3 separate regions of the Homo sapiens genome follow, and all the other regions are linked to region 1. The links are contacts of gene promoters, found by promoter capture Hi-C in blood cells and fetal thymus (Javierre and others, 2016). All regions are on one chromosome and are shown on one strand. The core of a region is centred on a gene start or on the middle of the fragment in contact, and the rest is flanking DNA. Distances in the headings are between cores, read along the strand shown.

Evidence for each region. The method cuts DNA at HindIII sites, captures the fragments that hold promoters and counts their contacts. A CHiCAGO score of 5 or more calls a contact.
Region 2: a fragment that was not itself captured here is called in contact with the fragment with the promoter of DEFA5 in region 1 in 1 of 17 cell types (total B cells); the score reaches 5.4 in total B cells.
Region 3: a contact is called between a fragment that was not itself captured here and the fragment with the promoter of DEFA5 in region 1, in 3 of 17 cell types (total B cells, naive B cells and fetal thymus). The highest score is 6.8, in total B cells.

Annotation. Positions count from the first base shown.
Region 1 is chr8:7,053,732-7,058,581 of GRCh38, forward strand. It overlaps DEFA5 (defensin alpha 5), which reads right to left and starts at 3,008. Exons shown (of 2, transcript NM_021010.3): 1 at 2,795-3,008; 2 at 1,573-1,812. The coding sequence starts at 2,966. The coding sequence ends at 1,700. The HindIII fragment of the contact is 6,427 bases long and covers 2,470-4,850 here.
Region 2 is chr8:6,826,614-6,831,463 of GRCh38, forward strand. All of the region lies in intron 2 of XKR5 (XK related 5), which reads right to left. Among named protein-coding and RNA genes, the nearest start is that of XKR5, 6.5 kb to the right of the region's middle. The HindIII fragment of the contact is 2,266 bases long and covers 1,545-3,810 here.
Region 3 is chr8:6,849,904-6,854,753 of GRCh38, forward strand. No RefSeq gene overlaps it. Among named protein-coding and RNA genes, the nearest start is that of GS1-24F4.2, 17 kb to the left of the region's middle. The HindIII fragment of the contact is 1,210 bases long and covers 2,048-3,257 here.

The DNA of each region.
Region 1 (4,850 bases), core at 1,758-4,257:
AATAGATAAACATATTCCTGAAAGACAATCACAAACTTATTCATTCATTATACCAAAAATGATACAGAAGGGCCCATATCATGGATTTGACATCTTTTCTCATTTGTTTTGAGTTTACTCCTTCCTATGATTTTTGTGATCTTCCGAGACCCCAAATGACTAAACGAGGTTGCAAGTCTAGGGCCAAATAGCTGACCCTTGATCAGGAAACAGTGCTTTGCATGTGTCTAAGATGAATCAAACCCAGACTACTTGTTATTTATTATCAGGCTGAGACTTTTTGTTGTTGTTGTAATAAAAATGTTTGGTTTTTTTTGTCATGTCATGACACTGTTCAATCCCTGTCTTTTATATAAATTTTAATTCTAGAAACTTGTTTTTCTCACAAATACGTCGTTCTTAAGTTTTTGCATAGCCCTAAGTGTATGGCCAATTTTCTTATCATTATGATGTATTGACTTGGTTCATTGGCATAATTAAAAACATATTAACATATATTTTCTCACTAGCATTTTATTAAAATGAGTATAGCTTTATTATAATAAATAGAGTTCATATGCTTGAAGGGATGGAGAGTTGAGACCAACTCCTTCATTAAACATTGGTCTAATTAACCTTTTGGGGACCAGTGAGGGACCATTTGTCTCATTGGTTATTGGGCCTCGTCCTCTATGGTCACCAGCTTCTGAGCTCCTCTTCTATCTGGTTATTAATTGAGATCACTGATGCTTGTCAGTCTTTCTTGTTTTGGGCACAGTTTTAACTTTTTCCTTAGTAAACTTTATTTTATTCTATCTTGTTGATACAGTTATATATCACCAAAACAGAGTGAAATAAAGCTTAATGTAAAGTGTATATATTTAACACATCTGCTTAAAATTTCAAAAATTATGTATAGCAATGCTTTCCCACTTTTTAAAATTAAAGGACAAGTAAACATAGCCCATTAGATCTATCTTTCCTTTGAGCCAACAACCACTTTTTGCCTCTCATTGTAAACTTCTACTTTTTGAGTATCATTAGGAATGCATTGAATTTTTAAGTTTCAAACTATTCCAATTAACACTTATATCCTGTCAGGAATGGTGGCTCAAGCATGTAATCCTAGCACTTTGGGGGGCTGAGGAGAGCAGATCACTTAAGCTCAGGGGTTCGAGACCAACCTGGGCAATATGGTGAAACCCTGTCTCTACAAAAAAATACAAACCATTAGTAGGGTGTGGTGGCACATGCCTGTAGTCCCAGCTACTCAAGAGGCTGAGGTGGGAGGATCATTTGAGCACAGGAGGTCAAGGCTGCAGTGAGCCGAGATTGCACCGCTGTACTCCAGCTTGGGTGGCTAAGTTAGACACTGTCTCAAACAACAACAATAAAAAACCCAATTATATTCATTTTTGTTATTTTGTTATTGCTCTATGATGCTCAAATTGTGCATCATTGGAATGCAAAGACCAGTTAACTTAATGTAGATCAGAATTCTCAATACAAAGGAACCATACAAACCACCATATAACAAAGCAAAAGAAAAAAAAGGAAAAAGAAAAGAAAATTAAAAAGGTCAAACACACTAAGTTTAATGCTTGAACTTTATTTTGGAGAGAGAAATTTAGAAAGACACAAGGTACACAGAGTAAAATGTTTTTCTTTTTTCAGGACCTTGAACTGAATCTTGCACTGCTTTGGTTTCTATCTAGGAAGCTCAGCGACAGCAGAGTCTGTAGAGGCGGCCACTGATTTCACACACCCCGGAGAGGGACTCACGGGTAGCACAACGGCCGGTTCGGCAATAGCAGGTGGCTCTTGCCTGAGAACCTGTGGAAAGAAGAGAGGGTCAGGCACAGCGAGGGAGGTGGGAAAAAGGACAAGCACAGCCAGACTAACTGAGATAGTCTAAATAAGAGACACTGTATCAGTCATGTTAGGATGGAGAAAATTCATGTCTTTGTCGTAAGTGACAAGAAATCTTACTAGCTATGTGTTAGTCATGCAAGATCATAGTTTTTTTCCCCATGTGAGTCTATCCAGGATGTATTTATTACCTGCTCCCTGGTCCAACAATATACCTCTCAACCTCAGGGTTACCTACTCTTCATTCTGCTTCATCCACACGCCTAATCTTGACCTCCATGTGTGATTTCCAGGTCCTAACAAGGCTCCCTAAAGCACCTGAATCAGTTTCTGAAATGCCGCATTGTGCATGCTAATGTCATGGACCAAATACTTTGGTGCTCAAGGAGTCTTTGAAGACTTTCCAAATTCAAATTCTTCATTCTCTGTCTCTCCTTTTTTTTTTTTTTTTTTTTTTTTTAACATTTTACATATTTACTTGTTTTAATTGACAAACAATAATTGTGTATATGTATGAGACACAATATGATGTTTTGATCTAAGGATGTATTGTAGAAAGATTTAATCAAGCCTATTAGCCTACATCAAAACACACCTATAGGTTCCTCTCTAGGTTCTAAAAGCTTTTCCAATGGACAAAGTAAAACACTCTCTATATAACTAAGTCTGCCCATTTAGATCTACAAAGAACTAGTCAGTGTAGCTCTTTCTATCTTAAAAGTAGCAAATTTCACAGAAATATCTTGGAACTGAAAGTCTTAGAAAAAAGAAAATCTTTTAGATTTATTTGGTTCTCACTGATTAATTTATAGATGAGAAAATCAAGGTCCAGGAAGATTAAGTAAAGTCACTCAAGTGAGGTAGACCTTTCCACACTTGACTCCAGATCCTTTCTCCAATCCTTTTTTTCTAGATTTTGCAGATGTGCAAGATTGATGTCTCCTACCTGAGGTTCTAAGAGCAGAGAGTCCATTTCCTGCAAAGGAGATAGCAAGGTCCTGGTTGTCTTCCCCAGACTGCTTCTGGGTTGTAGCCTCATCAGCTCTTTCCTGGAGTGACTCAGCCTGGGCCTGCAGGGCCACCAGGAGAATGGCAGCAAGGATGGCGATGGTCCTCATGGCTGGGGTCACCTGCAGGAGGGAGAGCAGGAGTGGATATGTGGGGAGTGAGGAGTCAGCCTGGATTTATAGCTCTGCTGGGAGAAGACCTGAGACAGAAGCTGCAGTGAGAGGAGGTGGGCATGTGATTGGGAGGGGAAGGACTGCCTTTGTTCTCAAGATCCCTTTGATGCTCCTCTTTCTCCCAGCTTTCATCAAAGCGTGAGTCTGTATGCTTAATGCCTCTTCTTGATCCAAGGTGTTAATGATGATAAGGGTATTACTATCCTGTTCTGTTTCCCATCTGCTTGAGTATTTACTTTTATATATTCAAAAAAGAAAAACAACAGCGCTTTCATTCAAGAAGTTTGGGGATCAAATGCCTCTTGTTTTCTGAAGATGGTCCCTGGTACTCTCTGGATGACTCTCTGGGGGCAGACCTGGGACTCAGTGGAGTAGAGAGTTAATTCATTGCAGGATTCAGGGATATTACTAACCTCATGTAGGAGGCTTTTGAGATCTCGAGGTGAGTAGTCTCCCGCTGGTGCCAGTATGGAGAGGTCAATGACCTTATCAGGCTATAGGGGAAATGAGTTCAGTAAAATAGTAGGCCAAGTTTATCAGATTAAAATAAAAATTCGGATTTAGTTCAAGGAGTTGGTGTGATCTGAATGCATCACATAAAATGTGTAGCGGGTACTTCTCTCCACTTTGGGGAATATCAAAGTAATTTAGGTGCGTACAGCCCCTTTCTGAGATTTTTTTTTTAGTTTTAGAAAATTGTAAATCATGCACAAGGAACAACATTCAAAAGGTAGAAGTCATGAGCTCTCATTTCTACCCCCAGGCCTTCAGTTCTGACCCAGCAAACCATCACTATTAACAGTTACACATAGTATTCTGCACTTCGCTTTTTTCACCTGTAACATTGGCACTTTGTATATCAAAATACATGGAATGCTATTATAATTTTAATAGCCTTATACTATCCCAGGGTTTGTATATGCCATCACTTATTTTTTGTACTGATAAAATATTATAAAATTATTACAATTTGGTTATTTTTAAACTTTTGCAGTAATAAGTAAAGTTACAGTGATTATCTTGTATATATGTTCTCTTACCTATATGGATAAACTTATAGAAATAGAATTGCTGTGTCAAAGAATGCATCTTAAGCCAGCATGGTGGTACATGCCTATATTTCTAGCTATTTGAGAGGCTGAGGTGGGAGGATCACTGGAGACCAGGAGTTCGATACCAGCCTAAAAACATAGTGAGACCCCTTTCTCTTAAAAAAAAAAAAAGAGACTATATCTTACACATTTTTAAGATATTACTACATATTTCCATAATATCACCATATTTGATCCAAATCCTTTGGGGCTCAGTGGGCCCTTGGAGAGTCTCTATATTTGAATTCCTCATTTAATTTTTTTCAAATTTATTTATTTATTCATTGAAAAATAATTTTCTGTATATTTGTAGGGTATGATGTGACGTTTGGATTGATATCCACATGGGAGAAACACATAAGCTAATTAAGATAGCCATCACCTCACCAACTTAATTTTTTAAGGAGAATTACAAATTGATTCCTTTAGCAGTTTGAAAGATACAATACATCACTATTAACTGTGGTCACCGTGCAGTGCCATAGATCACTAAGACTCTCCAGCATAACTGAAACTTTGTACTCTTGGCTCAACATCTTCTCTTTTCCTATCTCACCCACCTGCAGCTTCTGATGACCACCTTTGTACTCTAGTTCCATAAAACTGACATTTTAACATTCCATGTGTAAGTGATATCATATAGTATTTGTCTTCCTGTGTCTGGTTTATTTCGTTTAGCACATTGTCCTTTGGTTCCATCCATGTTGTCATGAATGAAGAATTTCCTTCT
Region 2 (4,850 bases), core at 1,428-3,927, 230 kb before region 1:
CCACGATATGAATTTCTTCAGCAGTGAGGAATGTGAGGATGGGTGGAGCCCCCATAAGGAGAGATCTGGATGACCAGTTGTGGTTGAGGGACTGGAAGTGGCCAGAAGAGACTGTGTGAAGACAGCATAGACCAAGGACAGCACCCTGGGGACTGTTCCCACTAAGGGGCCTGGATACGAAAGGGACACCAGCAAGGGTGGGTGGAAGCCGAGAACCAGGCAGCGGAGAGAGCTGCTGATCTCTGCACTGTGGATTACAGGATGGGGTGGCCCAGGGCCACGGGGACACATCTGCTCACCCAGCCTGGGTGGTCCTCCGAGGCTCTCGGAAAAGGAATCAAGCAACAAGAAAGAAGTCAGAACATGTCCTTGCTTCAGTCTGTTTCCCATGAGCCTATGCCAGGCACCTTTACTGGAAACTTCATCTCATAAGTAGAAAGTGGCACAGACCACCTTCCTTACAACCTGAAGATCCACATAGAACCCATGACCACGAAGCCACTCCCCACCACACCAGCGGGCTCTCAGGCTTCGAGTCTCACCTGGAGGTCAGATTTCGCCACCACCCACCAATTCCTCTCTGGGTCTACCTAGCAGCAGCAATAAGGAGATGACCACAGCCGCCTGCACACGAGCCTGCTGCCCAGCAAACCCACTGGATTCTGCTTCCCTGTCTTGTTCAATTTAAGAACTAGAGGTCACTTCAATTTAGCAACTCCTGAAGCCAAGCTGGATGCATCTCGAAGGTCACCTGCAAAACTCCCTGTAGAGACCCCTAAGGCTCTGACTGGCAGGTGACAAGCTGGACCCTGATGGGTGGCAAACATTTCTATGTCCAGAGCAGAAGATTCGGGGACTCCTCTTTGAAATGGCTTTATTCATGGTGCTGAGATCCCAGGACAGATGTCTAAGAAAAACAACTTTCCTTTTTCATGATTTGGAATCCTGGAGTGAACCCATTTCTTACTGTGTCTTGATTCCTGACATAAACTTAATGTTAAGAAAAACATATGACACTAAAAAATGTAACCATGAGGGCAGGCAGTAGTTTTCTTTTCACTCTCAAATCATTTGTTCCTGACATGGGGTAGTTTCCTCTTCTTGCTCTTCCAGAAAGCTTTGTTTGTTCAACATGCATTTTTCTTGGGCTTTGAGAGGCCCACCTGCTACAGACCACAGGCGAAGTAAGAGAAATGAATCCCAGCTTTTTGGGAGGCCAAGGCAGGAGGATTGCTTGAGCTTGGGAGTTTGAGACCAGCCCTGGCAACATAATGAGACTCCATGTCTACAAAACAAAACAAAACAAAGAGCTGGGATAGTGGTGGGTGCCTGTAGTCCCAGCTACTCAGGAGGCTGAGATGGGAGGATCACTTGAGCCCAGAAGTTCAAGGCTGCAAGTGAGCCATAATTATGCCACTGCACTCCAGCCTGGGTGACAGAGGCAGAAGACTCTCGTGAAAAAAAAGAAAAGGGGGGAAGTGAAATGAAAGATGTCTTTTAGAAACCTAAGATTCAGTGTGGAAAGAAAACATACAAATGCGAAAAGCTTCAAGAGGAAGAAATATAAGTATCAACATGAGTGGCTTGGGTAGTGGTGGAATCAGAGTCACAGGCAGAGAGAATAAGGTGGTCAGGGAATGCTTCCTGGAAGAGGAGGACAGGCAAACTCTGGACAGGTAGATGGTAGGAAGAGCCTAAAGGAGTGTCTGGGGTCAGTGGCACAGGGTACAAGGCACTGAAATGAAGGTCCATGTCTGGGAATAGCGAATATCTGGTGCTTGGTAAGGCGGGGGCCAGGAGAGGCTGAGTTGTGGGGCTACTCTTGTAAGAAACAGAGGACCAGTGGGAAGGTGACTAGCCCGGTTTTCTGAAACGAGCTGTCTCGAACCCATTGCAGAGGGAGAAATTCAGGCTGAGACCCCTGGACAGCCACTAGGGAAGCCGGGGAGGAAGCTGAGGCGGGATGGAGAGCGTGGGGATTTGGTCACTAGGTCCTATGAGATGGTGTCCGACATCTGTCCTCACAGTCGCTGCATCATTCCAGGTCCTTATCAGCACTTGCCTGGATTTCTGGCTGCCTGCATGGACCCCGTCCCTCCCAACTCTGTTGCATTTTATTGTCCCTGGTGCCATCTGTCTACAGGCTCATTTGCCCATATTATTCCTTTGCTCAAACCCTTCCAACAGGTCTCCAATGCCTGAGGATAAAATCCAAACTCCTTAATCCAGTAGAAAAGTTTCTTCATGGTCCAGCCCATTTATCTCCTGCCACATTCCTGCCATCTAGGAAATTCTTACCCTTTAGTCTCAAGAACCTCATCCTAATTTCCCATATACACCACTTCTGGCACGCATCTATGTCTTTGCACCAGCGGCTGCAGCTTGCTGTGTCGGAAACGCCTGTTCCCTCCCTACATTGATGGAAATCGCAACAGCCTTCAAGCCTCACTCGAGGGATCCTGAGGCAGGACTGGGCCCTCCAGGGCTAGGGCTATATTTTATATACTTTTAAATATTAAATCTCCACCCATTTATGCTGAACCTGTCTTACATACCTTTAGAGTTTACCTTAACTTTCCTTTTGACAACCTTGAACTTTCACTAAAGAAAAATTGCTAAACCAAGGTGCATGCTAAGGATGAGATAGGCCTTCTTCTGTCATCTCATGCTGCATTTACAAGTGGATTTGTGGGCTTAAAAAGAAAGATGAAAAAGATGTTGGTAACATACAGTATTAAAGTGTAAGTAAAAAACCTAAGTAGAAGAAAGTAATGGTCTTTGTTTAAATAAGTGGTCACCAATGTCAGGTTCTCTTGAACAGAGTCAGACTTAAAATGAACATAGTATGTATTATTGGGAACGTTAAAAAGAATACACTTATGGCTTAAATCCTTGCCTTTTTATATTTATTTATTTATTTGAGATTGAGTCTCATTCTGTTGCCTAGGTTGGAGTGCAGTGGCGTGATCTCAGCTCACTGTAACCTCTACTTCCCAGGTTCAAGCGATTCTCATGCTTCAGTCTCCTGAGTAGGTGGCATTACAGGTGTGCGTGACCACGCCTGGCTAATTTGTCTATTTTTAGTGGAGATGGGGTTTCGACAGTGTTGGCCAGGCTGGTTTAGAACTCCTGGCCTCAAGAGATCAGCCTGCCTCCACCTCCTAAAGCACTGAGATTACAGGTGTGAGCCGTCACGCCAGGCCAAATTCTTGCTTTTTTTTTTTTTTTTTTTTTTTTTTTTTGAGACGGAGTCTCGCTCTGTCACCCAAGCTGGAGTCCAGTGATGCAATCTCGGCTCACTGCAAGTTCCGCCTAACGGGTTCATGCCATTCTCCTGCCTCAGCCTCCCAAGTAGCTGGGACTACAGGCGCCCGCCACCACGCCCGGCTAATTTTTTGTATTTTTAGTAGAGACGGGGTTTCACCGTGTTAGCCAGGATGGTCTGGATCTCCTGACCTCGTGATCCGCCTGCCTCGGCCTCTCAAAGTGCTGGGATTACAGGCGTGAGCCACCGCGCCAGGCCTCAATCCTTGCATTTTTATAAGCAACTTTGTGTTTTACTGGATTCTCAGTTAGCAGATTCTTTTGTATTTTGTGATGAGGACACTCAAAGTGACCTATTCTTAGGCAATTCAAAATTGTGCCAAACGCAATTGTTTTGGCTCCCCCTACAGGTCCTTTTCTAGAATTGCAATTTGGAAAGCTGGATTGCCTCACTAAAAATACTGCTTCACTCAGTGTTGTCTTTGAACCCTATGTGCTAGTTTCAGGATGAGGAATGGATCCACTGCTGTCTATTTTAACTTTCAAAGCTTTCCTCTATGGAAGTAAATTTCTGTTTTTTGGTTCATGTTTAACCTGAGAAACACTGCAAATCTTGCGGCCTTTATGCTTGCACTGGCTGTTATAAACCTTAGGGCCAAATTGTGACCCGCTTCCGATAGCTGTGCATTCTGGCTCTATCTTGTTTTCTAACATTTCATCTCGATACCTGGCCTTTCTCATTTCTTTTCTTTTCTTTTTTGTTCTTTTAAGGATGTGTATTTTTAAAGTCATCTTAACTTCTTTTTCAAAACAAGAATAAATATATATGACTAATGGTTTTTCCTAATTTATAATTTTCATGTATCTCTTCACTTATCTATATGATTTCACTAGTATATACCAGATTATTCAAGTTCGTTTTTTTATATACACCAGAAAATCATGGCATCACTTAAGAAAATTAAGAGTGCATGGGAAAGACAGTGTGGGGTCCACTGTGAAATACCAGCAGCATGAATTTGGACACACCGTGGTCCCCTGGCAGCCCTCATCTCTGAGGAAGGCAGTGGATTCCATGAGGCCTGAGGGTCCACACAGCCTCAGAAGGCAGATTTGTCTAACCGTTCATTACCCAGGAAGCTTCTCTAAGTGACCACCTGGGCTTACCTCTCTCTTTGGGCTGCCAAACATGGGCTCATGGTAGCTGACTCACTCAACAGGCCTCTGTCCTCGAGGGCTCATGCCTTACGACTGTGATGGTCAAAGCCAAGTAAGACCCAGAGCCCTTAAGGATTGATTACTGGGCTGGGCCGATCAGGGAAGGAGACGACAATGGCAGCTAGGGCACAGGAGAGGCTCTGACCCTATGAGGCCCTCCGAAAGATCCTTCTCTGCCTTCTCCGCCATGGAAGGAAGGGCCCTGTCTTTTCAGGGGAACGGCACTGCTTGAACACCAAGGCCGAGCTTTTGGCAAAATGCCTGTGGCTGCAAATATGCTTTCGGTGCTGTTAGAGGTTTAGGGTCCAACTCTGAGGGTCCAGTGAAACTGAGAGTGGGTGCTTGAAGTCTTTCTCAGAAGCACCCTC
Region 3 (4,850 bases), core at 1,403-3,902, 200 kb before region 1:
ATAGTTCTCGAGCCTTGGCTTTCATCTCCATCAGCTCCTTTAAGGACTTCTCTGCATTGGTTATTCTAGTTATCCATTCGTCTAATTTTTTTTCACAGTTTTTAACTTCTTTGCCGTTGGTTTGAATTTCCTCCTGTAGCTCGGAGTAGTTTGATCGTCTGGAGCCTTCTTCTCTCAACTCGTCAAAGTCGTTCTCCATCCAGCTTTGTTCCTTTGCTGGTGAGGAGCTGCATTCCTCATATATAAATGCAGAAATCACCTGTCTTCTGCGTCGCTCACGCTGGGAGCTGTGGACCAGAGCTGTTCCTATTCGGCCATCTTGGCTCCACCCGAGAATGAATCTTATCTGCACAGGGAGTGCTTTCCGATTGAGCAGCTCCATTCCTACCCTTCTGCTGGCCAGCCACACGTTTAGATGGGAAAGACCTCATATTTAGCTCCAAGGGTGGACGCTTGGCCTACATACCTGACCACAGAGGTCAATGGGCCTCAGGGAACACAGACAGCCAGGGCCAGAAGAGGGATGGAAATGTCTGTCAACTTCTCATTTAAAGAATTTGAAGGTGATCTCTGTTGTGGCCCTGCACAGAACCAACCTGCTTGGTGCTGACTTCTGCAGTGAGAAGTCAGCTCACTGCAGAAGTTAGTACCAAGTATCCACCTGTTCCACAAAGCCAGATTCTAGGACAGCTGGTGACAGACAACTCAGCGAGGGGAGACCAGGGGCCCAGGGCAGGTCACTGCAAGGGGAATTCCCACACACCAGAACCCACTTCCCACCATACATATGCAGATGCACACACCCATAGCTGCACATGTATGTGTGCACTCATACATGCACACACACACACACATGCATACCCAGTCACACTGGAAGATGCACACATGAACATACATGCCTGCCTGCACACACCTACATGCACATACACCCCATACACACACCTGCACATGCACACCTGCGCATATACACACATGCACACCTGCACACACCTACATGCACATGCACCCCATACACTCAACCTGCACATGTGCCTCTGCACATATACAGACATGCACACCTGCACACATATGCACATGCACCCCATACACTCATACCTGCACATATACACATATGCACACTTGCACATAGACACAAATGCATACCTGAACACACCTATATGCACACACACACCACATACACTCATACCTGCACATGTGCCCCTGCACATATACACACATGCACACCTGCACACACCTACATGCACACACACCCCACACACTCACTCCTGCACATGCGCACCTGCACATATACACACATGCACACCTGCACTTCCTGCACCTGCATGCACACACACCCCATACACTCCTGCACATGCACACCTGCACATATACACACATGCACACCTGCACACACCTACCTGCACATGCACCCCATACACTCACACCTGCACTTGTGCCCCTGCACGTATACACACACGTGCACCTGCACACACCTACATGCACGCACACACCCCATACAATCACACCGGCACATGCGCACCCGCACATATACACACATGCACACCCACACACACACCTATATCCACACACATCCTGTACACTCATTCCTGCACATACACACACATGCACACCTGCACACACCTACATGCACACTCGTACCCTCAAATGCAGATGCACACTTGCACAAATACATGCACACTTGCACACACTCATACATACACTTGCACATGCACACGTCGATACATGCACACCTGCATAAACCTACATGCATACGTGCACACTTATACACTGATATACATGCAGATACACATGCACACCTGCACACACTCAAGCATGCATGCACGCACACCCCATACACTCACACACATCCACATGCATATACATGCACACCTGCAAACACCCACGCCCACATATGCACACACACACACACACACACACGGTCTGAGTGTCTGTTTTCCCATTTACTAGTAGGAGGGTGTCTGCAGAGGGCATCTCTGTCTCCTGCAGGAATCCGTTTTCACCTTAGCTGGATCAGGGTTATCCCGTGACTCCCTCTCTTAACCTGGGAAGCTTTCTGAATCCAACCTTTGGGGCCAAGTGGAAACTTCTTTGGGCTTCCTCGTCTCTGTACCAGCTGGAGACCCAGGCAAGAGGGGTTCTTCTCGGGCCTGGGGTTAAGAGGTCTTCTGTCTGGCCAGATCTATGTCCCTTCTCATTAATCATTCTCTGGGCTCCTATGACCTAAGAATTACTTGCCCCCAGCCTTCGTCTAGGGCCTTTGGAAGTTTCTTCCTTGGGTTGGAACCCCAAGGTGAGACGTGCTCCCAGGGTGTGTCATAGGCCAAGTGGTGGCTGCTGTGAGACTGTGACACAGCTTAGAGATGCAAGCCAAGAGGTCCTGTGTGGGAGTGCATGAGACCCTGGAGGCTGAGGATGGTCTTGGCTGTAGGGAGAGAAAGGGGAGGGGCTGCAAGCCAAGGCCCTGCCCTCTTTGTGCTGTCTGATTCTGGTGCGGGAGTTGTGGGAGTGCAAGGATCCTACATTTTTCCTGGAGGTCCAGGTTGTCTTGGAAGTATATTTGTTTAGGGTGGGAGGATAGAACACGTTTTAGTCAACAGTGTGATAGTTTGATTTATAGCTGTTAAATATTAGTCTCTTGGCACATAAGTCTCTGTTTGTTCTTCCCCACTATTCTCAAATATTTGTGGTGGGACTGAGCGGCCTGCAGGGAAAATCACTCATCCATCCCAGGGCAGGACTGCAGCTTCTGCCTGCATTGACAGTAGGGCTCAGTGCTTCTCAAATTATGGGTGTTTCCTGAGTCTCTAAACCTTGGAGTCTTTGTGCACTTCTACAACCTCCTCGCTTGGCTTCTCCCTCTTATCAGCTGCTAAGTCTTTCCACACAGCCTGTCAAAGGGAGAAAGACATGTTTCTAACTGCCCGCATTCTGTTCTGCTGCATTTCTCATGGTTTATCTGATCTCTGAACTGGGCCCCATCCCAGGGAGCCAGAGAAGCTGGCTTCTGCACTGGAGGAGAACCACTGCCTTCAAAACAGCCCCAACCCTTCATGTCTTGTTCCAGGAAACTTTCCCCAAGGGGAGACCACAAGTTAAATCATCTCCACCTGGTTCTTTCACTATCTTGTTTCAAGAACAAACAAGTCAAGTTGCAACGCCCACTGAAAAGAGTGGAGCAGGATGCAGTTTGTAATGCCTACCTGCCTGGGGAGCCATGGTCCAAGCACCTCCATAGACTTTCTACAACCTTCAGACAAAGCTTTCAGGACTTGACCGCAGGGAGTCCATCAACTCCCTGCTTAGCCTCAAATGTCTTCCTTGCACTCCTTGGTCTAGAAACAGCAGTGAGTTTGGAATGCTCCATCTGGCCTGTGAACCCCCAAAATCTGAGACAGGTCTCAGTTAATTTAGAAAGTTTATTTTGTCAAAGTTGGGGTTGTGTGCCTGTGAAACCGCCTCAGGAGATCCTGAGGACATGTGCCCAAGGTCTTCAGAACACAGTTTGGTTTTACACAATCTAGGGAGACAGGAGACATCAATCAACATGTGCAAGATGAACATCGGTCCGGTCTGGAAAGGCAGAACAACTTGAAGCAAAGGCGAGAAGACAAAGCAGGGAGGGGCTTCCAAATGATAGGAAGGGCTTCCAAGAATGCAAATGGTTGCATTCTTTTGAATTTCTGATGAGCCTCTCCAAAGGAGGCAATCAGATATGTATTCATCTCAGTGAGCAGAGGGGTGACTGAATAGAATGGGAGGCAGGTTGTCCCTAAGCAGTTCCCAGCCGGACCTTTCCCTTTAGCTTAGTGATTTGTTGGGGGACCCCAAGATATATTTTCCTTTTGTAGGCCCTAGATACTTCTGCTGAATTTTCCATTCTGCAGATACGGCACCTGGGTTCAATGAGGCTTCTGTCATCTCCTAGATTTGAGTTTTTGGTGTGTCAAGAGGATATGAAATTTTAGGATGCTGTGATAGAATCAGAGTTTTGCTGGCTTTAAAATATAGCACCAGAAATACAGTGAGGCCAACGGATCAGGACACGGTGCCATTGAAAAGGGAGTTTGTTAGACCCACAGATCGCAGGAGGGGCACACAGAGCAGGGGGGCCACATGGGGAAGCCTGGGGTTAGGAAGTAGATGGAGACAAAAGGAACTGTGGGCGAGAGCCTTTCTTGTGATTTCCATGGGAAGAAATGAGAAGACAGGGCAAGCAGGTTTGGGATTTGCTAGTATGAATAATTTCAGCAGTTCTGGGGCACAGAGGGTGTCCCTAGTCGTCTGGTACCTGGCCCAGGGTAGATAAGGGCTGGTGGATAGAGACCAGAGCATGAGAGCCTCCCGAAGAGGGCAACTGGGGGTGTGGACTTTTGATTGGTTGGTTTGCATTTGAAAGGGGTGCTCCTGGGAGAGTTGCCTACTATCTCTAAGAATTGGCTGACTCTGAGGGGGCAAGTCCCCAGATATCAAGGCATGAGAATTCAGACAACAAGAGATACGGCGAATCCACTGCTCCAACATGCCTTCCCTCAGCCGTGGCTTGGCAGTGGCTCTCAGCAGGTAAACTGTACTCCCTGACCCGCCGACACAGGGCCTGACAGTGTGCCTTGTGTCCACCAGCAGGAAGCAGTGGCTGCGTGCCTGTTCCAGAAAGGGCAGCATGTGTCTCAGCCCACAGCCTTCAGCCCTCAGCTCCCATGGGGAGAGCGTGTCATAGGCAGCCCCTGTTCACTGAGCATTTGTCCCCGACAGGGCCACACACAGAGCAGCCCTGAGCCCAGTCCAGAGCCGGCTGCAGAGGCCACAGAGCCAACTGTGAATGGCGACATGAATGTTTGTGACTTCCAGAA